2 separate regions of the Homo sapiens genome follow, and region 2 is linked to region 1. Evidence: promoter capture Hi-C in 16 types of primary human blood cells and fetal thymus (Javierre and others, 2016). All regions are on one chromosome and are shown on one strand. Each heading gives the region's core, a stretch centred on a gene start or on the middle of the fragment in contact. The rest is flanking DNA. Distances are from core to core; before and after follow the strand shown. Region 1 holds the start of ADAM30 (ADAM metallopeptidase domain 30). Region 2 overlaps NOTCH2 (notch receptor 2).

Region 1 (2,940 bases), core at 166-2,665:
ATTCCTCATTGTCCTCCACAATTTTGTTTCCACATCTCTTAAGCACATAACCTAGTCCTGGGATATTATTTAGACATGTTGCTCCCGAAGAGATATGTTTAAAAAAAGAGATATAACTGCAATTGCTAAACCCAGTGCGTCCTGAGCCCATGATGCAATTAAGCCTACCCCTACATTGGCAGTATTGTTCATCATGTGACATTCCTACAGCATGACCCAGCTCATGAGCAGACCAGGTAGCAGGGGCAAGGATATTTGTATCTAGTAAAGTACTCACTGATCCAGCATATTCTAGAGAACACACTTTTCCAAACGACCATGCAAGAGCATCATTATATTTTCTTTGAAGATATAAATGTGCCCAATCTGATGACAGGCGAGCATTTAATACACTTTTTTTATATATTACAAATCTGCCTAAAACTTCAGCTAACTCTGGATATCCAACGCGTATTTTGTTAAAATCTGTCCATACTTCAAGAGCCTTTAAGTGTATCCTCATACGAACATCTTGAAAGTAGGTGTCCATAATCCCAGTCAAAAGAATGGCATCATGTATGACTTGAGAAAGATTGTTGTTCACAAACCTATACCTACTTTGATCAAAGAGTAGGATCAATTCCAAGTACTTTGGGTGTTTATAGGATCCAGGAAAGTCCCTTAGCCTCGCCTTATTCTCATAAGGGGCCATCTGCCATTCTATTTCATCATCACTTAAGCCACAAACCTGATTCCCAAACTGCTCTTTCTTCAGGAGATAGACGACATGTTCAAAACTGGGAGAGGCCTTGAGGGGCTCAATTTGGTAATGTTTGGCATCAATGTTAAATACACCTCGGAGACCCCCCATGCATGTGCTTATAGTAGCTTTAGAGTCCAGAGACTCTTTCACGGAGCCCATGTAGTTGCAGTCCTTTGGTATGTAAGGATGATCCTCCAGCAGTTCCCCATGTTCTGTGAAGGAGAAAACGCGCAGATGTCGGGGCAACAGAAGTCTCTTGGGCCACAAATGGAGGACGTGCTTCTTGCCTTTTAACTGCAGTAGGTAGGACACGGGACTGACCACACCCTGCACCTCTCCCCGGAAGCTCAGCTTCTCAGGAATGGTGACTTCATACGAGTCAAACTCCCCTTCAGGGTGAAAAATTACATCTTCGCCAAGAGACTTAAGGAGCATTGTCGGAACTAGTAGAAGGAGCAAACGGCATTGGGAGAGGAAGATCTGCACTGACCTCATGGTCTGTTCCCTACTCAGCCTCAGTTTGCTATTCAGTCCCTGCAACTCTGGCCTCGCGAGTCAGATTTCTGGGGGCCGCCGCTAGAGGCGCCTGAGCTCAAAACCCGGCTCCCCTGGCAGGGTTTCCGGGGGAGCCCGTAGCCTCCCAGGGCTCGGTCTAGCTGGCGTCCGCAATGCGCGCGTGACCTGTCCAACGCATCCAGTTCGTTTTCCGGGCCGTACCGTTGGGCGCAGGTGGAAGAAAGGAGGGAAACGTGGGCGAGAATAAAAGAGAAAAGAGGGGCTGTTGGCACGTGGGTTGGAGAGAGGGTAGAGAACACCATCGGAAATGGAGAAGGAATAGAGAAATAGGAAGAACAAAGGAGAACGTGTTAAAGGCTCACTGTATCTTTGCCTTTACTCTGTGTCTTTACACCTTAGGACACAGGTTGGAATCCGATGTTTTATGGGCCACTGTCCTAACTTCATTGTTGGACATTTCCCAGTTTTCCACTAGGGTTGCTTGTGGCAAAAGAAAGGAGCATCAGAACCAGCAAGAGTGGAAACAGCCTGAAAGTATCAGCGTAGACTCCACACCCCCAGCCCCACTCTGGGCAGTTCCTCTGTCTTCGGCTGCGGCTTCTTTTTAGAGAAGGCCCTGAACCTTAGTTGTGGGCCCAGGCAACAGAAAGGTCCTGAGCTCATTTTGCCTGGGAGTGCTTTCTGCTGTTTGTCTTTGGGGTGCCAGGGGTCAGTGTAATTTTTGTGTGTCCATGTGCAATGGTGGGAAGAACCTAGAAAAAGTGCCTGTTATAAGAGCAAACCCAAGTGCTTTCTGAGAAAGGTAGATAGCTGGTTATGTTCCTAGTCGAGCGATGAGGCTGACTCCACAAAGGAAGAAGCCTCTGGCTCAGAAAATGGAAGGGTTTATCGTCCGTAAAAGGGCAAATCGGAAGGTCATGAGGTGATTCTGAGGGATTCTGATAAGAGAGGAATATTTTCAGTTTTGTTCCTGGGAGATTCCATCTGGCTGAATTACAAGGAAAGGTTAAAAAGGAACAGGCTTGAGTCAGGGAGACTAGTTAAAAGCTCTTGTACCAAGCAATGTTGTCTGTTGGCAGAAAGCATGGCCTTAGGGCTGATAATAAGCAGTACTTATGGAAGACTGGCTCGTTTCATGCTACACACCCCGCTATGCTCTGCATAAATCAGCCCATTAAATCTTCACCATGACCCTAGGTTATAGGTACTACTATTATCACCCATACTTTGCACATGAGGACATGAAAACCGTACCATGGTTCAGAAGGTGGCGTCAGCTGAAGCAATCCCTGTGAACATTTAGGCAACTCTACCCGGAGCCTGTGTTCTTTACTAGTCAACTCTGTTGTCTCTTTAGGGAAGGACAAAAGTTGACAGCTCCAAGAGATTTAAAACCACTTAGACTCTGCTGGACTTAATGCTTGCATGGATTCTCCCAGAATGAAAGAGGCAAAAATGAAAAAGAATGTTGATGTTTCTGGCTTAGGTGTATGTGTGTGTCATGGTTCTAACCACTCAAAGAAGAAAAACATCAGAACAAATAGATTTAGATAAAGGAAATAAATATGAAAAGCTCTGCTTGCAAAATGTAGATTTCCAGGTGCCAGTAAAGGAGCATTGAAGAAGGGATTTCTCAACTGCAGACGAGTAGGCAGCATCCTCTGGGCTGAGATGCCTGAGTT
Region 2 (2,940 bases), core at 217-2,716, 41 kb after region 1:
CTTACTGGCATTTACCTACTCCTCTTTCAGTTGAAAAAGGCACTTTAAAGGGAAGGCAAGGACTGAATACAATGAAGGATGTTTCAGATTTGACTTGTGTGCAAACCTTTTGTTCCTCCTGGGTACAGGTTTCCTCATCTTTAAAATACACATTCCTCCGTATGTGATGAGGACCCTATGACTCGGTCAAAAGGCATATGTGGATGGTAGTACAGACATGCAATTATTGATCTCCAGGTTTAGGAAATTGGATCTATGTGTGAGAAACTGGTTGAGATAGGCTTAGGGGTAGAGGGAGGTGGGGCTGGCTGGCTGGCTGTGGTGGCTGTAGGGGTTGGAAGGATTTCAGGGCTGACCAAGAAAAAAGATATGGCTGTGAGGTGGCTTTATTTGGACACTTTGACAGGTTTGCACCTGGGAGAAGTCCCAAATAGCATGAGACCTTCCAGAGGGGTAGGTGAGTAAGGGGAAGACAGCAAGTAAACTCTGGGAAAGAAGGATCAGAGAAGGAGTCTAGGTGATGTCACTCAACAGCCAGTGGCAGGAATCTCTGGGTCAGAGAGCTCTAAAGGCCAGCATCAGCCTGGGGTCTGTATGGCCCCAGGGTATATCTTGTCCTACTTATACTATGGCTAGCAGATTTTGGCTGCAGTTTTACAGGCTATGCAAAGCAGGCAAGCTCTAAATAGCTAAAAATCTGCTTATTTGGGGGCTATGTTTAAAACAACTAGATGTGTCAAAATTTGGGTTTGGCACTGGTAGGCTTTTGAGCTAATGAGACCCAGCCCCAGCCTGCTGTGAAGAAATAAACAACCTAGGGGCCAAAATACAGAAGCTATCGTTGGCTCATTTATATAACAATAGAGAAGCAAAGCTTTTCTCAGTGTTGCTTGATGGTTTGAATTGGTATCAAATTAATGTCTCAGGCATTTTGCTAATATCTTGCTTGCTCTAACCATTATCAGCCCAGACATTAAAATAGTGACATGTACCTTGAAGACACATACTTCCTCAAATATATACATGTAACGTTTAGCATGATGCTATGGGGAACAGGATGAGCAACATTTTTTTTTTTTGAGAGAAAATTGCTAGTTGACTGATTAATGACTAAATACAAAGGTGACAGGGGCCAAAGGGACACTCCACAAAGCAGTTTTTCCTATCTCAGCTGCTATTCAGGGAAGTGTGGACTGCTATGTTGGGTGGGCCTGTAAAATGCACTCTGGTAGTGACTCTTGGCTCTGAATCCTAAAAGCAAGCCTAAGGAGCTGGGATGGTTCCAGACGCCTATAAAAATATCATACTAGGGACCTGTTAACTTATTGCACAGAGAGGCTGAAAGAAACAGTGGTAAACATTATGACGGGGATTGGTAAAAATCTATAAACTATCAATATAAGATACAAGCAGCTAAATTCAATATATCAGTGCTCAAACAGTTGTACAATCTCCTGGGAGGTCCATGACCTCTGCTTGCTCAGTGTCCTCACCTCGCATCTGTATCCACCAATGAAGTCACTGCATGTTGCCCCGTGCTGGCAGGGGTTGGACGCACACTCATCGAGTTGCTCCTCACAGTAGCTCCCAGTATAGCCCAGGGGGCACTGACAGTAATGCGTGTTGCCAGCATTGATGCAGACACCTGAGTGCTGGCACAAGTGTTCAACAAGCACACCTGGGAAACCCAGTGAGGGAGAAATGTCATAGAAGAACATGTGACACATGGGGTTCAAATCAACCAATGAGCAAGTAAATCTAAACTGGCTGACACATCCAATCTTATTCTTAGCCAGTTCTTCACAACCCTCAGTACCAGATGCATATTAAAAATAAACCCTGAAAGTGGAATATACCTTAGTTTCATTTCAAATACATTCTTCTCCGAATCTCTGAACCTATTCCTCTACCCTTACACCTTCTGTCTTGAGCCCTTTCCCCAGAGCCCTGCCCACCCACTACTATCTGCCCTTCCCTCTTATTCCACAAAAAAATGATACCTTCTCTAAATGCCACTGGACAGTCAATACTGCAGTGAATGACCTGAGCCCAAGGGAGCAAAGCTTACCTCTCCTGGAGGCTGCTATGTCACAAGAGACATTGGGCACGTCACAATAGGCACCAGCCCATCCAGATGGACATAGGCACTGGGACTCTGCTTTTTTCTGAACGCAAGTACCTTTGTTTTTACATGGAGACCGACTGCAGAGATTCACCAGGGTCTGAAACAGAGGCAGGGGTGTACATACATCAAAATTCAAATACTAGAAATGAAGAAAAGAAGTTATATTGTGTTACAAGAAATCAAAGAAAAGCAAACTGATTAAAAAGAAAAAGAGCCTTCATCTAGTAAAAGAGCCCTTAAACTAGATTCAGTGTTCCGAGGTACACCTAACCATTTTTACGTACCGTTAAGTCTTCACTTAATGTCATCATTAGGTTCTTGGAAACTGTGACTTTAAGGACAACGATATATAACGAAACCAATTTTACCACAGTCTAATTGATATAAAAAAGAGTTAAGTTCCTCTACTTATTTCTGGTTAAAAAAAAAATCACTAAACTTCAAATTAACACCCACTTCTGATATTAAACATTAAAATAAACAAGCTATACATTCATTTAAGAAATATTAATAAAAACAAGATAATTATTTATCCAATTTTTGGTGAATCCATGAGTAATAGCAGTCCTAGTGGTGGCAGGTCAAGTCAAGGAATAAATGTTTGCAAAGCAAAACCGTCAGCACCTCTTACCACCACACAGCTCAGAAAGCAACACTAACCAATATGGCAGGCTTGCTGGGTGGTTTTGTACCACATTGTTTATTGTTGTGCACTCATATGATTATCATAGGCTTTATGGGTTTTCATTTTATAATAATTGGTATATTCATTCTTTTTTTTTTTTGAGACGGAGTCTCACTCTGTTGCCCAGGCT

Evidence for each region. The method cuts DNA at HindIII sites, captures the fragments that hold promoters and counts their contacts. A CHiCAGO score of 5 or more calls a contact.
Region 2: a contact is called between a fragment that was not itself captured here and the fragment with the promoter of ADAM30 in region 1, in 12 of 17 cell types (erythroblasts, M0 macrophages, M1 macrophages and 9 more). The highest score is 14.4, in erythroblasts.

What each region holds. Positions count from the first base shown.
Region 1 is chr1:119,895,100-119,898,039 of GRCh38, forward strand. It overlaps ADAM30 (ADAM metallopeptidase domain 30), which reads right to left and starts at 1,416. Exons shown (of 1, transcript NM_021794.4): 1 at 1-1,416. The coding sequence starts at 1,237. The HindIII fragment of the contact is 9,342 bases long and covers 1-2,940 here.
Region 2 is chr1:119,935,789-119,938,728 of GRCh38, forward strand. NOTCH2 (notch receptor 2) reads right to left here. Exons shown (of 34, transcript NM_024408.4): 20 at 2,069-2,222; 21 at 1,494-1,678. Among named protein-coding and RNA genes, the nearest start is that of ADAM30, 41 kb to the left of the region's middle. RefSeq lists an enhancer at 452-1,177. The HindIII fragment of the contact is 1,189 bases long and covers 873-2,061 here.